2 separate regions of the Homo sapiens genome follow, and region 1 is linked to region 2. The links are contacts of gene promoters, found by promoter capture Hi-C in blood cells and fetal thymus (Javierre and others, 2016). All regions are on one chromosome and are shown on one strand. Each heading gives the region's core, a stretch centred on a gene start or on the middle of the fragment in contact. The rest is flanking DNA. Distances are from core to core; before and after follow the strand shown. Region 1 holds the start of VNN2 (vanin 2). Region 2 holds the start of TAAR5 (trace amine associated receptor 5).

The links. Contacts are between HindIII fragments. The CHiCAGO score rates a contact against its expected background, and 5 or more counts as called.
Region 1: a fragment that was not itself captured here is called in contact with the fragment with the promoter of TAAR5 in region 2 in 1 of 17 cell types (monocytes); the score reaches 5.9 in monocytes.

The regions. Positions count from the first base shown.
Region 1 is chr6:132,756,780-132,760,046 of GRCh38, forward strand. VNN2 (vanin 2) reads right to left here and starts at 1,125. Exons shown (of 7, transcript NM_004665.6): 1 at 892-1,125; 2 at 637-767. The coding sequence starts at 1,104. The HindIII fragment of the contact is 9,752 bases long and covers 1-3,267 here.
Region 2 is chr6:132,588,388-132,591,577 of GRCh38, forward strand. TAAR5 (trace amine associated receptor 5) reads right to left here and starts at 1,354. Exons shown (of 1, transcript NM_003967.3): 1 at 205-1,354. The coding sequence starts at 1,299. The coding sequence ends at 286. The HindIII fragment of the contact is 5,426 bases long and covers 1-1,637 here.

The DNA.
Region 1 (3,267 bases), core at 177-2,676, 170 kb after region 2:
AACACCATCTATATGCTGACATTTGATTTTCTATCTCCAGATATAATTTTGTCTTTTCATGCCAGACTTGTCCATGCAACTGCCACGTTGACACCTCCAGGATGACAGTAGGACCCAGATTTTTAATATATATTAGAAGGTTTCTAGATAACCTTTTCCCAGGAAAATTAGATTTGTGAGCCTAGGAAAATGCAGTTTCAAAGCATAAGGTCTTATGATTCACTTGAAAATACATGGTGAAGTCTTTCTGCCTAAGAAGCAACTCTGGAATGGAGAGACTCTATAACATTGAAAGGGTGTCCCTTCAGCAGAGGCTTTGGAATGTATTCCTAACACAATCCACTGTCTACTTCAGAAATTAAGTTACTACTTGTATCTATGAGATCTCTTCCCTTAGTTTTTCTTGCAGGAATACCCTATTTACACATTTTCTCAAAATTTAATAAAGATTTTCAATCACAAAAGATTGTTAAATAGTATCTAAGTACAATTTTTTAAAATCTGACAAATGTTGAGATAAATATAACCATAACATATACCACATATATGGTAATTCAAGAGCAATCATTTTGCTTTGGTGAACGTGCGCATTTTAGAGAGTTACTTTTGCACAAAAGACTAAGATAGTTAAAATACCTGTGGGGGTCTTGACACGGAATCCAGTTCACCTGAGGGTCTGGGATATCCTCCAGATAAGGGAAAACAGTTTCCCTGGTAAATTTCCATCCATAAAGTGCATCTTCTGGAGTCACAATGATTCGAGCACCCTGTTCAAAACAAGCAAAATAAAAATGATTTTTCCATGTACAACACAGACAATTCAGCTCTCTCGTCTTCCACCAGCTCCCATGCCCCTCGTGTACATTATGATTAACAGAAATAAGAGAATACCTGCTCAGCTGCCTGCTTGATCGCTGTCTCCAGAATGTCTATATTCTCGTTCATGAGATTCAAGGCATCCTCCTGAGAAACTGGTGTTTCTGTTTTATTTGGCAAAATGACAGCATGTTCATACACTGCAGCTATAAAACTGTCCTGAGTACCAACCTGCAGGGTTATTAGGGCAAAAACTGCCACAGAGATTGGAAAAGAGGAAGTGACCATGGCCAAGGTTTAGTGATTTCTGAAAGCAAAAATAACATTCATGTAGTATTTACAGAGGGGAGAATGTTTGCATAACATGTGGCTGCCAGTTACTGGCCTTTTACTTTATCATCATTTTTCTTCTTCTTCTTCTTCTTCTTCTTCTTCTTCTTCTTCTTTTTTTTTTTTTTTTTTTTTTTTGAGGCGGAGTTTGCTCTGTCACCCAGGCTGGAATGCAGTGGCGCAAGCTCAGCTCACTACAACTTCCACCTCCCAGGTTCAAGCGATTGTCCTTCTTCAGTCTCTGAAACAGCTAGGACTACAGGTGCGCGCCACCACGTCCAGCTAATTTTTGTATTTTTAGTAGAGATGGGGTTTCACAATATTGGCCAGGCTGGTCTCAAACTCCTGATCTTGTGATCCATCCACCTCAGCCTCTCAAAGTGCTGGGATTACAGGCGTGAGCCACTGCACTTGGCCTACTTTATAATCTTAAGAACGCAATATATCTGACCACTTTTAAAGAAAGAAAAGTTGCAGTCCATTTAAGACAATCAGAAAGTATTACAGGGATTGAACAGCATGTACTATTAGTACTAAGATTTAATATTGAATTTCCAAAAGACACCCGAATTCAAATATAGAACAATTCCAGCTTTTGTTAATAGAAACTCATAACTAACTCTCGTGTAAAAAAATCACATCCCAACAAATATCTCATTTATTAAATTTAAAAATTGACAACAATTTTTTTGGTTCTGTTGAGTCACTTACATTGTGTTTATTTTTAGACGGGGGGGAAAATATTAAATACTTACTACTAAGAAAATGTAACACAGGACAATATTGATAACAAAATTTACCCAAATCTACACTCTGACTTACTTATTGCTATTAAGGACTGAAAACATGTGCTCCAGAAAAGCAGGATTTTGTGTCTGGTTTGTTCACTGCTGTATAGTTAGTGCCTACAGCAACAATACCCCGAGGCACCTAGGCCAGAGGAGGAATCTCAGCTCAGGGGCCCCAGGCCTCAGGATACTCCGCTTCTTTCCTTCTTTCTCTCTTTCACCCTTCCCTCCCCATCCTCCCCCTACTTCTCCTTCTCCTCCTACTCCTTCTCCTCCTTCTTTTTCCTCCCTCCCCACCCCCTGCTTTGGAGGAAGATGCCAGGGAAGGGGAAGAGTCCAGGATTGGTGATAAAGATCATCTGTGTTGTAATAAGGAGAAGATGTAACTTACATTTTTGTTAGCAGCAAATAACAACAATGAGTTTAAAAACAATGCTAACAGGCCAGGTGCAGTGGCTCATGCCTGTAATCCTAGCACTTTGGGAGGCCGAGGCAGGCAGATCACCTGAGGTCAGGAGTTCAAGACCAGCCTGGCCAACATAGTGGAACCCCCCATCTCTACCAAAAACACAAAAAGTAGCTGGTCGTGGTGGTGGGCGCCTGTAATCCCAGCTACTCGGGAGGCTGAGGCAGGAGAATCGCTGGAACCCAGGAGGCAGAGGCTGCAGTGAGCTGAGATCACACCATTGCGCTCCAGGCTGGGCGACAGAGCGAAACTCCGTCTCAAAAAAAAAAAAAAAAAAAAAAACAATAATAACAACAAATACAGGATGTGATCTCAGATGCCTTCTTAGGACATTCATATTCTCCCTTCCCCAGGCCCAATCCTGCCAAATAAAGGATTTGTTTTATTTTTATCCAGCCCTTTGGTAAAAGTCACGGAAATGCTTTTAGACAGCATAGAAGAGTAGGTACGATTAAACAAAGTTTATTCTGTGCTTTCCTTCTTACTGAGATAAATGTTTTGTTAAGAATGGGGCCTAGGGGCTATAAATAAGATCTGCTCATATTTTCTGCTTTGAATAGAAGTTTCTATTAAAGGAATAACTTTTCTTATCTCTATAGAGCAGAAAACTAAAAATAATTCAGGAAAAATGGTCAAGCCCTTTTGTGGAAAATGTAAAGGGATAGATATTTTTATGAATTTTTAGCAGATTGTATAATAGACTGTTAGTATATAACCATACTATCTAGTGTATAATTAGTAAATTAGCATAGGTGATTGGTATATAATAGATTATGAGTGCTGTTAGAGTTTAGAAATCATGTAACCCAAATGCCCACTTATTACAGGATAGGAATCTGAGGCATAGAGAGCTAGAGCGACAGAGCA
Region 2 (3,190 bases), core at 104-2,603:
TGTAACAAACCTGCACGTTGTGCACATGTACCCTAGAACTTAAAGTATAATAAATATATATATACGTATATATATATATACGTGTATATACATACATATATATAAAACATTGAATGTGGGGAGTGCTTTATCCCTTTCCAAGTTAAGGAGCTTGTCTTTCTCTTCTACTTAACCCATGCTGTCCTGGAAGCATGCCCACAAACTCAACACCACACAGCCCACGGTCACAGTGCCACTTATCTTTCCTGTGAGGTCCTACTCCTTGCCTGCATTTAGTAGAAGGAATCATTCTTGGTACAAATCAACAGTGCGTGTCTGCGGTGAGAAGACCTTCTGGCTCAGTGTGAGTTTCAGTGCCTTCCGAAACCACTGGTAGGAAAAGACATAGATGATGGGGTTGCAGGCTGAGTTGAAGTAAGCAAACCAGATAAAGATGTCAAAGACCAGTGGGGGTGTGATAAAGTGAAGGAGGCTGTCGACCATCGTGTCTATGGTGAAGGGCAGCCAGCACAAGAGGTATATGCCCACAGCAATGCCCAGGGTCTTGGCAGCTTTTCTCTCATGCTTGGCAGCCCCAGCCAGGCTTTTGCTCAATGTGGTAATCTGCTGAGCCTGTCTGGTAGCAACCACAAAGATCTTCACATACAAGCTGATCATAATGAGGCAGGGGACAAAGAACAAAGGGAAGTTTAACCAGCCCCAAAATTTATTGAGCAGCAGCTGGCAACTGCCCACACAAGGCATCTCTTCCAGCCACTGGCTGAGCCTTGTCTCTACCACATCTGTGTAGAGGAATAACGAAGTGTATGCTGCGGGCACCCCCCATCCTGCCAGGATGTACCTGAGAGCCACCCTCACTGTGAACTTGGAGGGATAGAGCAGGGGGTCACAGATGGCACAGTGGCGGTCAATGGAAATGAAACAGAGATGGAAGATGGAGGTGAGGCAGAAGAGGGTGTCCAGGTAGGTGTGCAGGCGGCAGAGGAAGTCCCCGAAGAACCAGCAGCTCTCCACTGAGCGAATGGTGCTGAGGGGCAGCACCAGCAGACCCAGAAACATGTCAGCCAGGGCCAGGGAGAGCAGCAGGAAGTTGGTGGGCGTGTGAAGCGCTTTGAAGTAGGACACAGCAAATGCCACAAATACATTCCCTAGCACGATAATCAGCATGCCTGCTGCACAGGCCAGGTAGATGACCAACTGGATGCCCAGAGTATGTACTGTCCTGGGGCAAGACCCATTCACCTGGTAGCAGAATGCCGCAGGGTGCTCTTCAGCACCTTGGATGAAGACAGCTCTCATTTATGATTTCTACTCTTCCTCTGTCTGAGAACTGGCCACCTTCTCCACTGGAGGGCAAAAAAAAAAAAAAAAAAAAAAAAAAAAAAAAAATATGTCTGCTAAATAATCACAGAGTGAAACGAAGAGGAAGAAACTAAAGTACAGTTTGGAACATAGTACAGTGCCCCTGGGTACTGAATCAAATGTGCCCTGAAAATCAAATGCAGCATAGTATTCAAGGTTTCATGAGAGTTACTTCTGCTAGCTCTAGTTTATATGACTAGGCACTTTAAAACTAGTGTAGGTAGTATTCTTAAAGAAAGAAAAGAAGGATGTAAGCTGAATGTTTCCTCAAAGAAAGCTTGATTATATCCATAGGTAGTATTAAATAATAGAGAATGTCTCTTACGTTTTGATAAGGTATTTTTTGTCAAATGTAAAGTGAAATTTAAAGCAAAGATCTGAACCAAGTGACCAATTAATTCTTGTTAATAAATTATTCCTTGGAAAAAGTGTAACTTCTAGCTTCTCTCTTTAAGAATTACATACATTGACAATAAAGTTAGCAGATTAAGATTTTTAGCTACATGCCAACTCTTCCCAAGAGAAGAATTCAGCATGCAAATATTAATAATTAAAAGAGTAGAAAATTGCTCTATTTTAGCTTTAAATGCTGCACATTTTATGATGATAACACAAAGTGTTTACACATCTTGGTATAACTATTTGATAGGCAAAATGATTTTATCTATTTAACATCTTAATGTAAGTCTGTGAATTATTAACCAAGTCCTAATATATTGAATTCAGAGTTTCTAAGTTACTTACACAGGTAGGAATCAGAATCCCTTCCTGGGAAAAAATGTTTCTTGGAGCAGGTGGACACAGGGAATGTCAGAGTACTCTTCTGTTGGCCACAATGACAGGTGTGCAATTAGTTAACGATTTTATACTCTCAATAGAAACTACTCCTCCATGTGCTATGATACAAATAAGCTGTGAAGAGGCACCATGGGACCTAGTTTGCACTATTTGCAAGTCTCAGTTGTTTAAGGTTCCTCCTCAATACAGAATCACTTACCCTGACAATTAATTAGAGATAAAATTTAAAGACGGTGGATGTATATATTCTTTTTTAATTTTTCAGTTCTGGGATGTTTTGAAGGTATTCTTGCCTGCTAATGGCTGCTATATATTTTCTAATTTCATTTTTAGTGAGTTTCTTATTTTTCTTCTGCTTTAGTATTATTTGTGTATATTTCTCTCAACATGAGAAATAGTTGAGAATAATTGATCATGGGTTTTTTGGTTCATGAAGGGGTGGTTTGTGACTTCCACACAGGATTCATCATTATGTGTTTTTTGAGCACTATATTTTGTGATGGTGAAAGAAAGCATGGTAGATGAAGCAGTTCACCTGGAGGAAGAATAGTTAAATTCCTGTTTCATCCTTTCTTATGCCATACCTAACCTCTCTCTCTGCTTCCCCATTGGTAAGAGTAGGTACAATTATACCTGTGTAACTTGATTTCACAGGGATATTATCAAGGTAAATAACATGTTGAATCGTATTCTGCTCTCTGCCTCTTGATATCTTAGAAGCTGGTATGCCTCTTTATGGTTACAGAGAAACCATTTCACAGTATCAGTCAAACTAAAGTTGTAAAAATGACAGAATTCTAGAGGTGACACCAAATTACATCTGCCAGAGGGGCCTGGAAGAGGAGGTGGGGCAGGTCAAAAAGAAGGAAGGAGGTTGGTATGCACCTCTCCTTTCTCTACAAATCCATGGCTAAACCCAGTGTTTCCCAAGGCAAAGCTCCCTATAGCCTGGCTACCGCTGGAATCTTGCCTTATGCCAGCTTCATATGTGTGGAAATACATATCTGGCTCCAGAACTTAATCAGACACA